7 separate regions of the Homo sapiens genome follow, and regions 1, 3, 4, 5, 6 and 7 are each linked to region 2. Evidence: promoter capture Hi-C in human tissues and cell types (Jung and others, 2019). All regions are on one chromosome and are shown on one strand. The core of a region is centred on a gene start or on the middle of the fragment in contact, and the rest is flanking DNA. Distances in the headings are between cores, read along the strand shown.

The links. The method cuts DNA at HindIII sites, captures the fragments that hold promoters and counts their contacts. A contact is called where the count stands out against the background at its distance.
Region 1: a contact is called between a fragment that was not itself captured here and the fragment with the promoter of B4GALNT3 in region 2, in 2 of the 25 tissues and cell types used here (dorsolateral prefrontal cortex and lymphoblastoid cells).
Region 3: a contact is called between a fragment that was not itself captured here and the fragment with the promoter of B4GALNT3 in region 2, in 1 of the 25 tissues and cell types used here (dorsolateral prefrontal cortex).
Region 4: a contact is called between a fragment that was not itself captured here and the fragment with the promoter of B4GALNT3 in region 2, in 2 of the 25 tissues and cell types used here (dorsolateral prefrontal cortex and lymphoblastoid cells).
Region 5: a fragment that was not itself captured here is called in contact with the fragment with the promoter of B4GALNT3 in region 2 in 1 of the 25 tissues and cell types used here (dorsolateral prefrontal cortex).
Region 6: a fragment that was not itself captured here is called in contact with the fragment with the promoter of B4GALNT3 in region 2 in 3 of the 25 tissues and cell types used here (dorsolateral prefrontal cortex, mesendoderm cells and spleen).
Region 7: a contact is called between a fragment that was not itself captured here and the fragment with the promoter of B4GALNT3 in region 2, in 1 of the 25 tissues and cell types used here (heart right ventricle).

What each region holds. Positions count from the first base shown.
Region 1 is chr12:878,565-881,264 of GRCh38, reverse strand. It overlaps WNK1 (WNK lysine deficient protein kinase 1), which reads right to left. Exons shown (of 28, transcript NM_018979.4): 11 at 1,234-1,692; 12 at 266-544. Among named protein-coding and RNA genes, the nearest start is that of RAD52, 70 kb to the left of the region's middle. The HindIII fragment of the contact is 5,036 bases long and covers 1-2,700 here.
Region 2 is chr12:458,503-461,202 of GRCh38, reverse strand. B4GALNT3 (beta-1,4-N-acetyl-galactosaminyltransferase 3) reads right to left here and starts at 1,264. Exons shown (of 20, transcript NM_173593.4): 1 at 658-1,264. The coding sequence starts at 826. RefSeq lists an enhancer at 1,113-2,096. The HindIII fragment of the contact is 8,839 bases long and covers 1-2,617 here.
Region 3 is chr12:790,790-793,489 of GRCh38, reverse strand. The region is part of intron 1 of WNK1 (WNK lysine deficient protein kinase 1); the gene reads right to left. Among named protein-coding and RNA genes, the nearest start is that of WNK1, 40 kb to the right of the region's middle. The HindIII fragment of the contact is 7,452 bases long and covers 1-2,700 here.
Region 4 is chr12:847,913-850,612 of GRCh38, reverse strand. All of the region lies in intron 4 of WNK1 (WNK lysine deficient protein kinase 1), which reads right to left. Among named protein-coding and RNA genes, the nearest start is that of WNK1, 97 kb to the right of the region's middle. The HindIII fragment of the contact is 6,164 bases long and covers 1-2,700 here.
Region 5 is chr12:831,504-834,229 of GRCh38, reverse strand. All of the region lies in intron 4 of WNK1 (WNK lysine deficient protein kinase 1), which reads right to left. Among named protein-coding and RNA genes, the nearest start is that of WNK1, 80 kb to the right of the region's middle. The HindIII fragment of the contact is 7,038 bases long and covers 1-2,726 here.
Region 6 is chr12:932,143-934,842 of GRCh38, reverse strand. It overlaps RAD52 (RAD52 DNA repair protein), which reads left to right. Exons shown (of 12, transcript NM_134424.4): 2 at 1,767-1,868. The coding sequence starts at 1,785. LOC124902855 (a long non-coding RNA gene) reads right to left here. Exons shown (of 2, transcript XR_007063155.1): 1 at 2,038-2,700; 2 at 1-2,002. Among named protein-coding and RNA genes, the nearest start is that of RAD52, 16 kb to the left of the region's middle. The HindIII fragment of the contact is 6,084 bases long and covers 1-2,700 here.
Region 7 is chr12:741,782-744,481 of GRCh38, reverse strand. No RefSeq gene overlaps it. Among named protein-coding and RNA genes, the nearest start is that of WNK1, 9.4 kb to the left of the region's middle. RefSeq lists an enhancer at 1,007-1,126. The HindIII fragment of the contact is 8,426 bases long and covers 1-2,700 here.

The sequences.
Region 1 (2,700 bases), core at 201-2,700, 420 kb before region 2:
ATGGCTAAAGTACTAGCTAGAGAAGTGAAGTGCTAATAGGGTTCATCTTCTCCAAGGCACACTCACTTCCCAACAGAACAGCCAGTGGAAACAAGGACCCCACATTGGCATTTCATTCTGCTGTAAGAAAAAGTCATGCAGAAGTTAGTTTGACATGGTCTCCAAATAAGTTCTAAACCAGGGGAGCCTGTTTCTTTCTCCTTTATCATTGTTGTCCAATTACATATATACGTTTTACATATAAACATGCAGTAATTCTATTTACCTCCAAAACTGCTTGCTGGGAGGATGTAGTGGGGGCTTGTGCTAAACTCCCTCCTGGCTGGGACACTTGAACCTGTCCTCCTACACCACCCATAGGAACTAAAAGATTTGATTCCACATAAGGCTGCACCACTGTGGGAAAGTACCCAGGTGTAGCCAGTACTTCTGTCGGCATGGGAGGGGATAGGACTGTAGAATGGATGCAAACAGAAGCCACGTTGGAAGAGGGAGCAATATTTGAATCTCCTGGGTACTGTGGTGGCAGTCGAGGTGGGAAGCCCTGTGACAGAAATGAGGAAGGTGAGTTAGAGCAGGTTGGGGGTCAATAAATTAGCAAAACAGCAAGACATGCAAAAAAAAAAAAAAGAAGCACACAGCAAAGAAGAATAGTAGCCAATCTCTTTCTAATAATCTAAAGGGCATATAAAGACCACATTCTTGAAATGAAGTAGTAGACTGGTTCCAACAGAAGAGACAGGACTCTACAATACTACTTTATTGTCGGTTATCTTCACCTAGAGATGATTTAAATAGGAGGAACACAATTTCTTCCTAGCCAATCTTAAATGGAAAAATGCAAAAATTCTTCCACATAACAGTCATATCATGAAATGCTAATTTTCCCAGTCTAAACCCCGAAGCTTTTTGTTGATACCATGTTGGCTATTCTATTTATTCTACCCATATATGTAAAAGTTGCCAGGTGTACTATTAACCACATCTAGCATTCAATCAGCTTACAGTGAATACTGAGAGAACCATTTTTCTCTGAAGAAGTGTCTTGAGAAAAATGGATCAGGAATCACTGAACATCATTATCCAATCCTTTCTCAGAATTTTACTATTTTGCTTCTCTAGTTGACATGTTATTGCTAGTTATTCTGACACTCAACTATTAGATTTCCATGTTCCTGATGATCTACTAGGATCAAACTCTGTGGTGCCCTCTTTTGCTAACTAACACAATACCTGGTACAGAACATCTCCAGAGGAAAGTGGAACCTCAGCAGCTTGTCCAAGGTTAGCTGGTATTCCCATGGACTGAACTGCTGGTTGTAGGAGCTGTGGGTGAACCTGACTTGGCAGCTGAGTCACAGGCTGCAGAAGGGTTGGAAGCTGACTAGGAACCACAGTTGATACCCCCGGGATCGCAGCTGTTGTAGCAGATGAAGCCAACGTGAGCAGAGGCTGAGTAATGCCAGCTGCCATTGTGATGGGAAGGGATGAGAAACCTGTCTGAGCCGTAGACACATGAGGAGTTGATATGGGAATCTGAGAGACAGGGTACTGAGGGAGCAAGGGAGTAGGGAGCGGCTGTCCCACTGGAAGGAAATGAGCACCAGAGTGGACTGGAACAACCGAGGGTTGTGTCGCAACTGGGATCTGAGGTTCGCCTTGGATAGTTGGTACTGGCTGGGAAACTGGAAGCTGGGAAGGTAAAGAAAAACAAAACAGACAGGCTTAAAAAAAAAAAAAAAAAAAAAAAAGCAAGGCTGCCAAAAGCAAGATTTATGTATTAGCCAAAAAGAAGGAAAAAACAAACAAAAAAAAAAACACCAAACCAACAAAACCCTGCATACATTAGTGTTAAGTTAATATGCCACATAAGAATATGGAAAGGAGAGCAGGAGAGAAAGAGGCTAAATAGACTATTACTGTTCTACACCTTTTGTCATAGAAATATTTGCTAATGCTTCAGCATTTGGCAATAGAAGAGGACCCTTCCATAGACAAGGGGTTGGCTTTTTTTTTTAACAGCTTTATTGGAATATATTTTATATACCATAATGCTATCACTAAAGTTACGACTGCTGTTACAGTAGTTACTGAAATTCAAATGAATTCCTTCCCAGTGGAATTAAGATTTCATTCGTATTATTTCTAAAATTCTTAAGTCCAACATGGCTCAATAAAAATTGGTATAATTCACATATTTCACTCATTCTAGGATGCAATCATCCCTCTCCACTACCTGATCATTTTAACATGTGAGAAATTGGGATCTACTTTATAACTGATAATGTGGTACATAAAATATGGTACATTTTAAAGTTGATAGCATCTCAGATGTGATGAAATATTAGGGTAACAATACACTGTGCACATACATGCACAACAGTACTCAAAAATAAAGTTGAAAAAAGGTCATTCAGAAAAGCATACCTTCTACAGGGTACTTCTCAAGTGATTAGGAGGACTACTTAAGAAAAAAAAACATTCCACACAGTAAACAGTGCAGAAATCTACATGAAAATAAAGCATAGTTTCAAACCTAGAATATCAGACATAGCTGACACAATTCTAGGGAATGTCATAGGTTCAGTTACCAGAGCACCTTTATTTAACCTGTTATTTCTAATACCTGTTACATCAATTTTGGACTGGTAAGACTAGAAGTGAAACTTTGGATTGTCACTGCTGTCAGTAACGTACCCA
Region 2 (2,700 bases), core at 15-2,514:
AAGGGGCGGCCCGAACAGGAGAAAGAGGGCGCAGCGAGGAGGTGGGAGATTCAAAGAGCCGAGGACGGAGGCTGGGAGAGGAGCGACGTATGGGAAGCGGGGAAGAGACGGGACTCTCCGAGGTATGGTAAAAAAGAACCCCCCTAGAAGATGCAGCAGGAGAGGAAACGGAGTGAGCCAAACAGAAGGCGGTGGGCAAAGTTTGGGCTGCGCGGACTGGAGCGCGCGCCTGGGTGTGGACGGCCGAGGGCATCCCGCACCCGAATCCCTAGCTCGCGCGTGGACCCCACGGACCTCCTCCCCGGGAACCGCAAGCCCGGAGCGGCTGGAGGGGCCCGGTCTCCGCCAGCGTCTCGGCGGGACGGGCGGGGAGCCTCTCTCCGGGTCGCTCTCCGAGGGGAGACGCGAGGAGCCCCCAGGGTGCCCCGGACCCACGTGGCCGGCGGGCAGGCCCGGGCTCGGGAATTCTGCGCTCGGCCCCGCGGCTTCCCCCGCCCGCAGCTCTCCCCGAGTACGCGCGGGGCGACGCCGGGCACCTGAGGGAGAAATGGGTGGGAAATCGGGTCTGAGGATGGGATGAGAGGCGGGTCCCCCCAACGCAGGAGCCGCCGCCGCCGCCCACCCCCGCGCCCTTCGCCTCCCCTGGGTGCTACTTACTCCGGTTCAGGGGGTTCCCGCCGACCTGGGCCGACGCCACCAGTTCCAGATACAGAGTCCAGAGCCCCACAGACACCACGGCGAGCGCCAGCAGCAGCCGGAAGCGCCTCCGCAGCAGCTTCACCGGGCGCAGGAGCAGCGGGGGCCGCGCGGCCCGGGGGCTCCCCATGGCGCTGCGCCGAGGCGGCCGCCGCCAGCGCGGGCTCCAACCCCCCGAGCCGCCGCCCCCCGGCCGGGCCCCGCGCCCAGGGCGCCCCGCGTCCCGGCCCAGCGTCTCAGGGCTGCGCCGAGGCCGTCTCTCCCGGCCGCTCTCCGGCGGGGCTCGGGCTCATGCTCCGGGCGCGAGGGGTCTCCGGGCTGCGCGGGCGCCCAGCAGGTCTCTCCGGGAGCCGAGCCCGGCTCCTCCTCCGCGCGTGTGTTCCGCGCCGGGCTCTCCTCCCCACGCCTCTCCCGTCGCAGGCTCGCTGCCGCCCTCCCTCCCTGCGCGCCCGCCCTCACTCGCTGCCCAGAAGGAGGCTTCCCCGGCGCCCGCCCGCCTGCCTCCGCCCGCGCCCCCGCCAGCCCCGGACCGGGCTCCGGGCTCTGGGCTCTCCTGCTCGCGGAACCTGGCCCGCCCCCGGCCCCGCCCCCGCCCCCGCCCCGGGCACAGGTGGGCTCCGCCCCCGAGAAGCCAGGGACGCGAAGAGGCCATTCGGCTTCCCTAGGGGAGCGAGAGGTGGGGCCAGAGAACTGGTGCCTGGTGCCTCCCCCGACTGGGAACGGGTGGGATGAGGAGGGGGCGAGTGATGATGCGGACTCTGGGTGACCGAGGGAAACCGAGTCACCACCCAGGCGCCTAACGGTGTGGTTTTAGGCAGAAGCGAAGTAGAGGCTGGTTTGGGCGACGCCCAAGGCTTTAGCCTCAGAGCCTTTCGTCGCCAACAGCAACGACCCGACTCCCTGCTTGACGAAACCAGTAGGCGTGAAATATCACGGGAGCCACTGGACGCTTAACGCAGACATAGCTTCGTTTTCCAGTTGAGATTTGAAGACCTTTCTTCCCAGCCTGAACCACATCTCCGAGAGGCGCTGGGGAAGTCGTACAGCCCCCACGGTGAACCCCAGCAAGCAGTTTTCCCCAGACTGGGCTGGAATGGCTGTTTGAAGAGAGTAGGTGTTTGAGGGTTCCGAAAAAGAATTTTAAAAAGAAAAGAAAAGTATTCACTCTTAGAGTTGAAAAGATCAGCAAGATAAGCCAGGCACAGTGGCTCACGGCTGTCGTCCCAGCACTTTGAGAGGCTGAGGCAAGAGGATCTCTTGATCTCTGGAGGTCAAGGCTGCAGTGAGCCGTGATTGCGTCAGTGCACTCCAGCCTGGGCAACACAGCAAGACCCTGTCTCAAAAAAAAAAAAATCAGTATTCCAGTCCTCTGCCTTCAGGCAGGTAAAGCATTATTATCTGATTTAAATTAGATAAAGTATCAAGGGGCAGAATAACTGCCCCAGGTCACTCAGCAAGTTATACTGCAGTTTTCTTTTCCATTATCTCTTCTGGGAAAAATGGTCAGGAGACTATGGGAAAAGTGAAGGATCAAAGTGTTCCTGGACATTTTAAAATCAAATGAATATCACACAAGTACTGTTCCAAGACAGAGGTTCTCACAGAATTGAGAACTATGTTTCCCTTCTCTCTGTTCTCACCTCAGTTGGATATTCAATAGTTTCTACAGGACTTTTCCTAATTAGCCTCCCCAACTCCAAGCTTCCCATCGCATCCTGTCCACTACCACCAGATGGTCTTCATAAAAAGCCAGGCATGGTGACACACACCTGTAGTCCTAACTTACTCGGGAGGCTGAGGTGGGAGGAGTGTAAGGTTGTAGTGAGCCACAATCATGCCACTGCACTCCAGCCTGGGTGACAGAGCAAGACCTTGTCTCAAAAAAAAAAAAAAAAAAAAAAAAATCCCGTATGTAGTCACACACCTGCTCAAAAATATTTAATGGCTTCCAATGCTTATTGATTAAGATACACACTGTAAATCCAGAATTCAGGGCCTTCCAGA
Region 3 (2,700 bases), core at 95-2,594, 330 kb before region 2:
AATTATTTCCAATGTTTTACTACCAATTGAAAAAAGAAATACTATCATTATTTTTGACCGAAATTTACTATTTAGCTCTTGTGGGCAGTCTCCTTGTTTTAATTTACATTAATTAGGAGAACCAACACGTTTTCTCCTTTTTAACTTTATAGGCTTTTCTAGTCACCCAACTTCAGTAAACTCTACTTTATAAAGTTCTTCCATAAAACAGCTAAGAATTTGGTATCTCAATGATTCTAAAAACTACAGAGAAAACATCTGACTCATTCATTCATCATAAAAAGCCTATTATTTGGTAACAGTCATTTTTACTAGGCCACATGAAGATGTTATTCTCTAAAATTAAATGGCTGGCTGATTGTGCTCTATTGCTATAAGTTTATTTCTTAGGTACAGGAGGATCATATAGAAGCATGTTAGCCTTGTTTATTAATAATAGCAGCTACCGTGACTTAGTTACCAGGCTAAGGTGTCCACATGTAGTCTCATTTAAACCTTGTAATAACACTAAAACATTACCCTCATTTTACACATGAAGAAAACAGAGGCTTAAAGGTATTTATATCCAAGTTGTGTCTCTTGTCCTGAGTTCACTAGACCTGATTAAGAACTCTATGAATTAAAGAAAAAAAAAGTCATAGAATAATATGTTTATATATATTTTTTTTAATGTGAGTACATATTTGTGTAAAAGCATGAAGAATTGGAAATACATACAAATATATGGTTGCCTCTGGGCAAAGGAGTAAAGGAGGTTAGGGTCAAGAAAGAACTTCCAGGTTCTGCTGTAAATTTTTTATATGGCTTTAATCTTAAGCAAAACAATATAAATGTATTCCTCATTGTAAGCTTTTTTGTTACAAGAATAACAGTATCAGCCGGGCGTGGTGACTCATACCTGTAATCCCAGCACTTTGGGAGGCTGAGGTGGGCGGATCACGAGGTCAGGAGTTCTAGACCAGGCTGGCCAACATGGTGAAACCCCACATCTACTAAAAGTACAAAAAAATTAGCTGGGCGTGGTGGCGGGTGCCTGTAGTCCCAGCTACTCAGGAGGCTGAGGCAGGGAGAATCACTTGAGGCTGGGAAGCGGAGGCTGCAGTGAGCCGAGATTGCACCACTGCGCTCCAGCCTGGGTGACACAGTGAGACTCCGCCTCAAAAAAAAAAAAAAAAAAAAAAGAATAACAGTATCATAAAAATTGAAACATTTATTAATCAGAACTAATACATATACTACTGTAGTTCTGTGCCAATCTCTCTATCACCTTTATACCTTTGCTCTTCCTAAGCTCACAGTATACATTATTTCCCTCTCTCATTTCATGTGGCTTCTTCCTTCAAAAAACTTTGCCTTGACAAGCTCTCTCACTTTTGCGGGGCTAGCGTAGGGGAGTAGCAATGTTTAGGTATAACCAAGATAATTAAAAAGTTTCTGTATTTAGGTCTACATGGGGAATAAAGGCAGGAAGGCTGACCAACAGTTTGGTGTACTGGGAAATCCTGCAATTCCCCTCATCTGTTGTGCACCCTCTGATAGGACCTGGGTAGAATAAAGCTGCTATTCCCTATTGGAGTCTGGGAAGTGGAGGCAGTGACATTATGATGTGTTCTAAACCTGGGTTAATACATGACTCTTGGACAACCATATGTATAAAAATAAAAAGGCTAAAAAGAAACATCATCCCCCAATTTAAGATTAGAGATAAAAAAAATTATCAAGAAAGGGCATCATTTATATTAATGTCATATATTTTAAGCACAATGTACTATGCTAAGTAAGCTGTAAATGACAATTTTATCTGCCCTCTTCAATATCTTTCACAAAGTGAAACCATTAATAAATACCTGATGAACTAAAATGGATTTCCATCTTAGGGTGGCAGGCTAGATATAAAATGTAATAGGAAATGTAGTTTTTTTTTTTTTAAAAAAGAAGCTCTCTCAAAGAACCTCTTGCGTCAAGTATAAGCTGAAACCTAGAAGAGAATGTTATTATAGAAAAGCAAAGATCTACGTTTTAGATAAAGAACCATACTGTACAAAAAATAATTTTCACATACATGATATAATTTATAACCGCACTTTACGATCATTATTTATAACAGCCACTCTGTTATCACTGAAATGTTGTGCATATACATGAAAATTTCCAGATAGGCCTCTCTATTCATGTATTATCTTTTTCTTAGTTATAAGGAAGTCCTTTATTATGTGTTCATAATTTTGTGTATGTGTGTGTGTGTGTGTGTGTGTGTGTGTGTGGTGAGAGAAATAGTAAAATTCTGTTACTGACATTTCTAGATTTCTATTCTAAGTATGTTACTTAATTATTATATATTGTGGTACTATGACATCCACAATATTTACTACGATCTGCCAATCCTTAAAAAAAGGTTTTATACCCCCTTTTTCAAATATCAAGCTGTCTTGGGTTTAGAAGATTTTCTATTCTAGAGAACTGTCTCTAGAATCCAAACATAGCACATTTCCCTTATTTTTTCACTACAGCTATAATTCATTTCCATAGAAGACCTGGTTAAACCTAGCTTTTCTAGTCAAATCATCAAGTAAATCCTCTTTGGACTTCTACATCTTCATTTCTAAAATTAAGAGGAAGAGATCAGGCAGAAAGAACCAGAAGATGTACTTAAGTTCCCTTCCAAAAGAAAAGAAAGAAAAGGAAAGGAAGGAAGGAAAA
Region 4 (2,700 bases), core at 139-2,638, 390 kb before region 2:
CAATGGCAAAAAAAGCCAAAATTGACAAATGGGATCTAATTAAACTAAAGAGCTTCTGCACAGCAAAAGAAACTACCATCAGAGTGAACAGGCAACCTACAGAATGGGAGAAAATTTTTGCAATCTACTCATCTGACAAAGGGCTAATATCCAGAATCTACAATGAACTCAAACAAATTTACAAGAAAAAAATCAAACAACCCCATCAAAAAGTGGGCAAAGGTTATGAACAGACACTTCTCAAAAGAAGACATTTATGCAGCCAAAAGACACATGAAAAAATGCTCATCATCACTGGCCATCAGAGAAATGCAAATCAAAACCACAATGAGATACCATCTCACACCAGTTAGAATGGCGATCATTAAAAAGTCAGGAAACAACAGGTGCTGGACAGGATGTGGAGAAATAGGAACACTTTTACACTGTTGGAGGGACTGTAAACTAGTTCAACCATTGTGGAAGTCAGTGTGGCGATTCCTCAGGGATCTAGAACTAGAAATACCATTTGACCCAGCCATCCCATTACTGGGTATATACCCAAAGGATTATAAATCATGCTGCTATAAAGACACATGCACATGTATGTTTATTGTGGCAGTATTCACAATAGCAAAGACTTGGAACTAATCCAAATGTCCAACAATGATAGACTGGATTAAGAAAATGTGGCACATATACACCATGGAATACTATGCAGCCATAAAAAAGGATGAGTTCATGTCCTTTGTAGGGACATGGATGAAGCTGGAAACCATCATTCTCAGCAAACTATCGCAAGGACAAAAAACCAAACACCACATGTTCTCACTCATAGGTGGGAATTGAACAATGAGAACACATGGACACAGGAAGAGGAACATCACACACCGGGGCCTGTTGTGGGGTGGGGGTAGGGGGGAGGGATAGCATTAGGAGATATACCTAATGTTAAATGATGAGTTAATGGGTGCAGCACACCAACATGGCACATGTATACATATGTAACTAACCTGCATGTTGTGCACATGTACCCTAAAACTTAAGGTATAATAAAAAAAAATCAACAGTATTTATGTACACAAGTGGTACAAATTTTTTGCCTCTTCTTCTCCCTCCTATAAAAGTCTCAAAATTAAGACATTCCATTTGCCAGGAAGATCTCATAGACCCAAATAAAAACTACTTTAATTTTAGTGATTAAGGGAAAGTTTTTCTTCAGGGCATTAACAAAGATTGTAGAAACAGCATTGCTCATTGCTTTGTTGTAATGGGTAACAGATTAAAGTCCTCTCTCCCTTGTAATTTTGTAAGCTTGAATCCTGATCAAGACAGTGAATGCTAAGGCTTCAATTACCAACAGTACATAAGATAATGGCTTGGAAGCTGTTTGGAAGTAATACATCTAAAGGTTAGAAATGCTACTAATTCTAACAAGCTATCTCAAAGCAACTACCACTAATCTCTGGCTCAACACAATTTGTTACTACTAAGTAGTCTAGGATGTCAGGTATTGCTCAGAAATGCAGCAATGTGTGCTGCAAAAGTGCAGCCTACCTCTAACTTAACTGTATGAGCAAGCCTGTGTAGGACCATGCTTGGCTAAATGAAAGAGCTAGAAAACAAGTGCCACGTGTCCTGCCTCAAAGGTCCATCAGATATAAAGATGTGGGTAGTTTTAAAACTCTATTAGGCAACAAATAAACCAAACTGAGGGGGCTTTGGGGGGCTTGAGGAGACAAAGGTACGATGTAGGCACAAATATCTAGATTCTATAAAGAGCAACCTTTTCTATAAATCAAAATAAGAGTTTTCAATATATTACAACAAAAGTACCATTCACAGATAACAGTTTACATATCTAAACTTATTCCTCTTTCTCTCAAAGTCAGTGCCTTTCTCTGGATTTCCCCTATTTCTTTCAATCGTGTCATTATTTCCATAGTCCAGAGAAGAAACCTTAGTCATCATTGGATGCTTCTTCCCCCACAATATTTAAGTACTACTATTATTCTCTATGGGCTCTTAACACAAAGATAAAGTTAAAAACAACTGGGAAATGGTTTTGTGACTAGTATTCTTACTCTTCTCCAACAGCCAAAGATCTCTGACCAAGCAAAAAAAAAAAAAAAAAAAAGTTTTTACTGGCTTCTTTGCTGCCTCACAAGTCATTGTTTTTGTATTACAAAAGTAACCATCAAAGTTCTGATTTCTAATACCTCATCTCTTTAAGCCTAGACCAGTTTAAGATGGGCCTCATATTTCCATTCTCTTCATCTCCAATTTGTGTTTTACATTGTGGCTAGCTCCTACCATCTGACTCCATTTAAGCATCTGACATTTAACCATTTCCAATCATCTGGTATCATTTAACTCATAATCACACTGCTCAAAAACGGTTAATAGTTCTCCACACCTACTAAATGACCACAGGATCACAGATCTAGAATAAACCAGATTAAGAGTCCTTCCTTGTTCAAATAACAGAAATGTTAATTCTATGTCAAAGTTAGAATTAATCCATTAGCCAGCCAGGCGCGGTGGCTCACGCCTGTAATCCCAACACTTTGGAGGGCCGAAGCGGGCAGATCACGAGGAGGTCAAGAAAGACCATCCTAGCCAACATGGTGAAACCCCGTCTCTACTAAAAACACAAACATTAGCTGGGCATGTTGGCACATGCCTGTAGTCCCAGCTACTCGGGAGGCTGAGTCAGGAGTT
Region 5 (2,726 bases), core at 104-2,603, 370 kb before region 2:
AATTGATTTGTCCAAGACAACAGCTTCACTCTATTTGATCAATTTGCCTTTCCTTCCATTGTACTACGGTGTTTGGCATCTCAGCATTCATGTAAATCCTATTCCTGCTTCTTAGAATGGCCTCTCACCATTCTTCTACCTTCTCTTTTTGACAGTTCATACAACAGCTCTTTTTGTGAAATCTTCCCTAATCCATAGCAGGGTTATCCATTGTTCCTCCACTCTCCTTAGTGCTTGTCTCCATTACAATACTCACCATAATGTAATTATAATTCTTTGTTTACATATTAATCTTCTATATTAGAGGTAGTTTTCTGAAGACAGGGAATATGATTATTCACCTTTACTTAGTATCAAGCTCTGGGCATGGGACATAGCAGGGATTCAGAAAATGTTGCATTTACTGGCACTGAGATTTATTTTGTATTTAGGATAGTGCTACAGATAAGGATGAAATTATACAGATGTACTAGATTAAAATATTTTAAGGAATATAAAGCAATAAAAATAATAAGCAAGTACATTAATTGAATTTATGAATTTATAAGTAGAATAACCACTAATAAACAAAATTTTATCATTCATATCAATTGAGAAGAATCAGCTCAGAAAAGGCAAAGATCATTATACAGTGAAACCAATCAGATAAAATGTCATGGAGGAAGACCGTTAAGTATATGGATTGACTGGATAGCAGAAAAGCTTATAGTGGAGGTACAGTATTATATAACATTTACAAATGGATAGGAATACAGGAAAGGATGTGGCATATGTGCGAGATAATGAAGAGAACTGATTTAACTAAAATAGAGTGCTTGGATGAAGATGAAGAATAGCAAAGATTAAGAATTTGTACTTGCTCTGATATCAGCAAACTGGTATCTTAAGTTCCTTATACCAAGAAAGGATAGCAAGAAAGCTCAACAAGTTTAAGTGAAATAAAAAAATAAATTCACAATGTAAATTACTTCTGGAATATAATGCAAGGTGTGCAGTAAGGAAGATGTGAAATCAGAGTTGTGGCAATGGGAATGAAGAAGGCTTGCATCTAAGAGGTATTCTGAAGCAAGAACCTTATAAACTGGAAGTAGTGGAAGCAGCGAGTAAAAAACAAGAAATCAAATATACCTCTTAAGTTTTCTACAATTTTAAACAAAATAAAGGAGGAAATTACCCAATAAACAGTCGACCCTATGCTCAAAGGAAAAAAAAAAAGAGAGAATGTAAATTACAACGCATCAGGGGAAGAAAGGGGAATAATAAGAGACATGAACTGGGAATGATGATACAGAACTCTGAAAGGCAAAGCAGATGAGCTTTCTAAGGGCATAAATGTAGAATAATGATTAGGGTACTTATCAGAATCATCTGAAGGCATAAAAAAATTTCTCCTGCCCCCATTCAGCCCAAATTGAGAGTCAGTGCTTCAGGGATTACAATTATATTGTGTATTAGAATCTGGGTGAGTATTAAGAAGAGGTTAATAAATTTAACAGTAAGGCCTCAGGCCAGACACTTGTAGACATACACCTAATAATAATAACTGACAAAATACCATCCCAATTACAAAGCCAGAAGTAACTTGAGAGTTACACACTTTCTCCATAAACAATAGCTGTCATTTTTACTGGGTATGAAACCTCAAACTTCATATGAAATTAAACTAATTGTCCAAAGTAGCTCCATATCCATCAACAACAGAATCACATACAAATATACAACAAGGATATTGAAGGAATATTCACAGCAATAAATAATTATAATTAATCTTTGACTCCAAAGATTTCTCCCAAGCCTTTATGAAGAGGTAAAATTTGGTCTACCTAAAGCAAAATGTTTCCTATCAGTTTTTAATAATAAACATTTCTGGCTCATGCCTGTAATTCCAGCACTTTGGGAGGCAGAGGTGGGCAGATCACAAGGTCAGGAGATCGAGACCATCCTGGCTAACACAGTGAAACCCCATCTCTACTAAAAATACAAAAAATTAGCCAGGTGTGGTGGCGGGCACCTGTAGTCCCAGCTACTTGGGAGGCTGAGGCAGGAGAATAGCGTGAACCCAGGAGGCAGAGCTTGCAGTGAGCCGAGATGGCGCCACTGCACTCCAGCCTGGGCGACAGAGCGAGACGCCGTCTCAAAAAATAAATAAATAAATAAAAAATTAAAAATAAACATTTCCATTCTGTTCAGCTATCAAAATCTAAATAAGCAATTGATAATTACATCTTCTATATCAAAATTCAATTAAATTACATCACTAAAAATGAAATAATGAGATACTATGAGCTTCTCGGTGCAATATAACATATACAGCACCACATATTAAGTATCCTTGCAAAAAATGTTTAGCCTAAATTTTATCAAGACTTTTGAACAGTGGTTCTCAAACTTTTGTCTCAGGACCCCTTTATACTCTTAAAATTAACATTATTGGGGACCTCAGAGGGATTTTGTCTATGTGTGTTACATCTATTAATATTTACCGTGGCAGATGGTAAACCTGAGAAAGTTTAAAAATGTTAATTCATTAAAAATTATAACTCATTATGTTACAAATATATATTTAAAATTAAAAAGTCAGTATTTTCCAAAACAAGAAAAATTTAGTGATAAGACTGGTATTGTTTTACATTTTTGTAATCTTTTTAAATATATGGTTTAATGGAAGACAAAGGAATTTTTTTTTTTTTTTGAGACAGAGTCTTACTCTGTCACCCAGGCTGGAG
Region 6 (2,700 bases), core at 52-2,551, 470 kb before region 2:
CCACACCTGGCCGGTTTTTTTAAACTTTAAAACAGATTCACTTGATTTTTCTTCCCTACCCCCCAGCTTTTTTGAGGTATGACTGACAAAAATTGTATATATTTAGGGTGTACAATGTGATGATTTGATATGTGAATGCACTGTGAAATGATTACCACAGTCAAGGTAATTCACATATCCACCACCTCCCAGTTACCCTCTTAGCTAGTACAGGTTGGGTATTGCTTCTCTGAAATGCTTTGGGACCAGAAGTGTTTTGGACTTCAGATTTTGGAATATTTGAATATATATAATCAGATATCTTGGGAAGGGGACCCAAGTCTAAACATGAAATTCATTTGTTTTCAGAGCCTAAAGATGATTTTTTTTTTTTTTTTTTTTTGAGATGGAGTCTCACTCTCGCCCAGGCTGGAGTGCCGTGGCACAATCTCAGCTCACTGCAACCTCTGCCTCCCAGGTTCAAGCGATTCTCCTACCTCAGCCTCCCAAGTAGCTGGAATTACAGGCTCGCACTACCACACCCGGCTAATTTTTGTATTTTTATAAAGACATTTCACCATGTTGGCCAGGCTGGTCTCAAACTCCTGACCTCAGGTGATCCGCCCGCCTCAGCCTCCCAAAGTGCTGGGATTATAGGTGTCAGTGACTGCGTCTGGCTGATAATTGAATTTTTCTCTTGGAGAAGCTGAATAAACTGTGTGTTGTGTGCCTGCCTTTTTTTTTGTTTTTTTTTTTTTTTGAGACAGAGTCAGACACTCTGTCACCCAGGCTGGAGTGCGATGGGGTGGTCATAGCTCACTGCAGCCTCAAACTCCTGAGCTCAAGCGATCCTCCCACATCAGCCTCCTAAGTAGCATAGCACCACGCCTGGCTAATTTTTAAATTTTTTGTAGTGATGGGGTTTTGTTGTCTAGGCTAGTCTCAAACTCCTGGGCTCAAGCAGTCCTTCTGCCTTGGCCTCCCAAGGTGGTAGGATTATAGGTTTGAGCCACCATGCCTGGCCATTACCTGTGTTTTGACTATAACACATCATGTTGGCACTCAAAACGTTTTGGATTTTGGAGCATTTTGAATTTTGGATTTTTGGATTAGCAATGTTCCACCTATAGTACATTTTTTGTTTGCTTTCCCATAAAGAATTTTTTGTAATTTTGATTTTATAGTTCTAAATGTAATATATTCTTATTGTAAAAATCACCTTTAATAGCACCGCCAGAATAGCAAACATGTTAACAGAAAGGTAGAAGTAGACCTTAAAGAATCTTCAGCAGCTTGAGAGACCACAGCTAACCACTGAGGAACTCTGTTCTGGATTGGAGCAGTGCTTAGAAGCTTATAAATAACTCTTAGGGTATTGCATAGGGATTCTTTTTTTTTTTTTTTCCTGAAATGGAGTCTCGCTCTGTCGCCCAGGCTGGAGTGCAGGGTGTGATCTCAGATCACTGCAACCTCCGCCTCCTGGGTTCAAGCAATTCTTTGCCTCAGCCTCCCGAGTAGCTGGGATTACAGGCGCCTGCCACCATGCCCAGCTAATTTTTTTGGATTTTTAGTAGAGAGGGGGTTTCACCATGTTAGCCAGGATGGTCTCCATCTCCTGACCTTGTGATCCACCCACCTCGGCCTCCCAAAGTGCTGGGATTACAGGCATGAGCCACTGTGCCTGGCCGCATAAGGATTCTTTATGTGATTTTTCAGTAGAGGCTCTTGCCTTTTACTTTAAACATTCTTTGAGGGTTGTTTTTTTTTTCCGCTTTTTATTTATATAGAGGTCAACCAGAATCAAGATGTCTGGGACTGAGGAAGCAATTCTTGGAGGACGTGACAGCCATCCTGCTGCTGGCGGCGGCTCAGTGTTATGCTTTGGACAGGTAACTGTGGTTCCTTCATGCCGGGAAAGAATGAGGTGAAGTGAGTAAAGTTAGGGCAAGGCAGTTTGTAGAGCATCGTAGTACATGTGTGAGCAGTACCTAGTACGTTTACCTAGTACGTGTGTGAGCAGTACCTAGTACGTTTACCTAGTACGTGTGTGAGCAGTACCTAGTACGTTGACGCGGTGCGTGCGGGGGCAGTACCTAGTACGTTTACATAGTACATGTGTGAGCTATTTGTTATTGGTTTTTCCTTTAGATGCATTTTTTGGGAGTCTTGTGAACTCTGGAGGGCATTTTGGAATGTTAGCTATCAAAAGACTGATAGTACTGGGGATTAGATTTAGATTTTAAATTTTTTGTGGGGGGGGATAGATAACATATTTGTATGACATCAAATTCAAAATGAAACTGTGAAAATCTCCCTATTTCCTATTGCCCCTGTGTGCATGCCACCCAGTTCTATTTCTTTTTTTTTTCGAGACTGAGTCTTGCTTTGTCACCCAGGCTGCAGTGCAGTGGTGCGATCTCAGCTCACTGCAACTTCCACCCTCTGGATTCAAGCAATTCTCCTGCCTCAGCCTCCCAAGTAGCTGGGATAACAGGCATGCACCACCATGGCCAGCTAATTTTTATATTTTTAGTAGAGATGGGGTTTAACCATGTTGGCCAGGCTGGTCTCGAACTCCTGACCTCAGGTGATCCGCCTGCCTCGGCCTCCCAAAGTGTTTGGATTACAGGCGTGAGCCACCACGCCCGGGCTTAATTTTTTTGTATTTTTAGTAGAGATGTGGTTTCACCATGTTGGCCAGGGTAGTCTTGAACTCCTGAC
Region 7 (2,700 bases), core at 33-2,532, 280 kb before region 2:
TTTTTTACAGAGTAGAGACAAGGTCTTCCTGTGTTACCTAGGCTGGTCTCAAACTCCTGGGCTCAAGGAATCTTCCTGCCTCAGCCTCCCAAAGTGCTGGGATTACAGGTGTGAACCACCGTGCCCAGCCAGAAATGTTTGTTCTTTAAAGATGATATTACAAAAATGAAAGGGCCACAGACTGGGAGTCAATATTGCAAAACAAATATCTGAAAAAATATTTGTAAACAGAATATATAGGAAACTCTTACAATTCAACCTTAAGATAATAGTACAGTAAAAATGTGTGCAAAAGATTTGAACAGATACTTCACCAAACAATATAAATGAAAGGATAAATAGGCACATGAAAAGATGTACATCATTAGTCATTAAGGAAGTGAAAATTAAAATTACCATGAAATATCACCACATACCCACGAAAATGACTAAAATTAAAAATGGTTGGTGAGGATGTAGAGCAACTAGTTTCTCATACGTTGCTACCGGGAGTACAGTGGTTCAGCCAGTTTGGGAAATAGCTTGACTCTCTAATAATTAAAGTTGAACATATACTTACCACATGATCTAGCAATTCCACTGCCAGATATTTAACCCAAGAGAAATGGAAACATGTCCACACAAAGACTTGCATGGAAAATTTCATAACAATTTTACTCATGATAGCCAAAAACTAGAAACAAACCGAATATCTATCAACTGGTGAACAGGCAAGTAAATTGTGTTGTGCCCTTATGATGGAATGCTACTCAGCAATAAAAATAAACGAAGTGGTATGTGCAATCATATGGATAACTCCCAAAGCATGATGCTAAATGAAAGAAGCCAGACACAGAAGTCTACTGATTTCATTTATGTGGCCATGTAGAAAACCCAAAACTGGCGGCAGAATGATCAGTTCTGGGGTTAGAGGGGGAGGAAATGAACTGCAGAGGAGCGCAGAGAACTTTTTGAGTCACGAGAATGTTTTCTGTCTTAATTTTGGTGATGGTTACATGACTGTATTCATTCAAAACTCATTAAGTGGGTGATTATACTTTTTTTTTTAAGGACAGGGTCTTGCTCTGTTGCCCAGGCTAGAGTGCTGTGGTGCAATCATAGCTCATCACAGCCTCAAATTCCTGGGCTCAAGGGATCCTCAGGCCTCAGCCTCCTGAGTAGCTGGGACTACAGATGCACACCACCATGCCAAGCTAATTTTTTTTTTTTCGTAGAGACGGGGATCTTGCTATGTTAATGATTATCCCAACTTGGTCTCCCAAAGTGCTGGGATTACAGGTGTGAGCCACCGCACCTGGCCCTGACTATACTTTAAATGGGCAATTTTTTATTGTATATAAGTTATTCTTCAAGAAATCAGATTTTTAAAATGATATTTAGTTGTGCCAAAATTATTGAAACATAATATTGAATTATTGAATACTCTATAAAGCATCCTATTCTGCTTACAAACTATTTGTCTCAATACCCAAGAGATATGAAACCTACCTGAAAAGTCTACATACACTCTATGGTAAAAATGAAAAAATGATATTACTAATTCAGTTTGAAAAACCTTTAAGCAATGGTCATTTTCATCCATTTCGATGGTTGGGAGGGATAGGGATAGCTATCAAGACAGATATTGAAAAGATTCTGAACATAATGTTCACCTGAGTACCTCCTTACCAGTAAATAGAAGGACAAGCTTCCCAACTCCTTATGATCTCTAAGAGTTTGCTTACATTATTTAGTCATTTATGATCAAGGCACATTCTGTATGCTACTTATATATTCATAATTTGACATTCAGTGATAATTTTTTGAATCTTTTTTTTTTTGAGACGGAGTCTTGCCCTGTCGCCCAGCCTAGAGTGCAATGGCGCAATCTCAGCTCACTGCAACCTCCGCCACCCAGGTTCAAGCAACTCTCCTGCCTCAGCTTCCCGAGTAGCTGGGATTACAGGCACCTACCACCACGCCTGGCCGATTTTTGTATTTTTAGTAGAAATGGGGTTTCACCATGCTGGCCAGTCTGGTCTCGAACTCCCGACCTCAGGTGATCTGCCCACCTCGGCCTTCCAAAGTGCTGGGATTACAGGCGTTAGCCACCGCGCCCAGCCAATTTTCTGAATCTTAAGATAATTTTACTGAACATACTTTGCTTAATTAACCTCTACAGTCAGGTTAATTCTGTAACCAAAAAGAGTATTTAGCAAATTCAACAACAGCAATAATATTATCATCTTCCAGCGTCTGCCTGTGTTTGGACCAATTGAAGATATGGTAAATTGACTCCCTTAGAATAGCTGGGAATTAGGAAAAGAGTGCCAAACTCTATAGCAGGTAATACTTCTCAGTAGATAGAAGTATACATTCTCTTAAGACAGTAATAATACTCTTTAAATAGTAGTCTCGGCCAGGTGCAGTGGCTCACACCTGTAATCCCAGCACTTTGGGAGGCCAAGGTGAGTGAATCACCTGAGCTCAGGAGTTCGAGACCAGCCTGGCCAACATGGCAAAACCCTGTCTCTACTAAAAATACAAAAATTTGCTGGGCGTGGTGGCATGCACCTGTAATCCCAGCTACTTGGGAGGCTGAGGCGGGAGAAGTGCTTGAACCCGGGAGGCGGAGTTTGCAGTGAGCTGAGATTGTGACACTGCACTCCAGTCTGGGCGACAGAGCAAGACTCCTTCTAAATAATAATAATAATAATAATA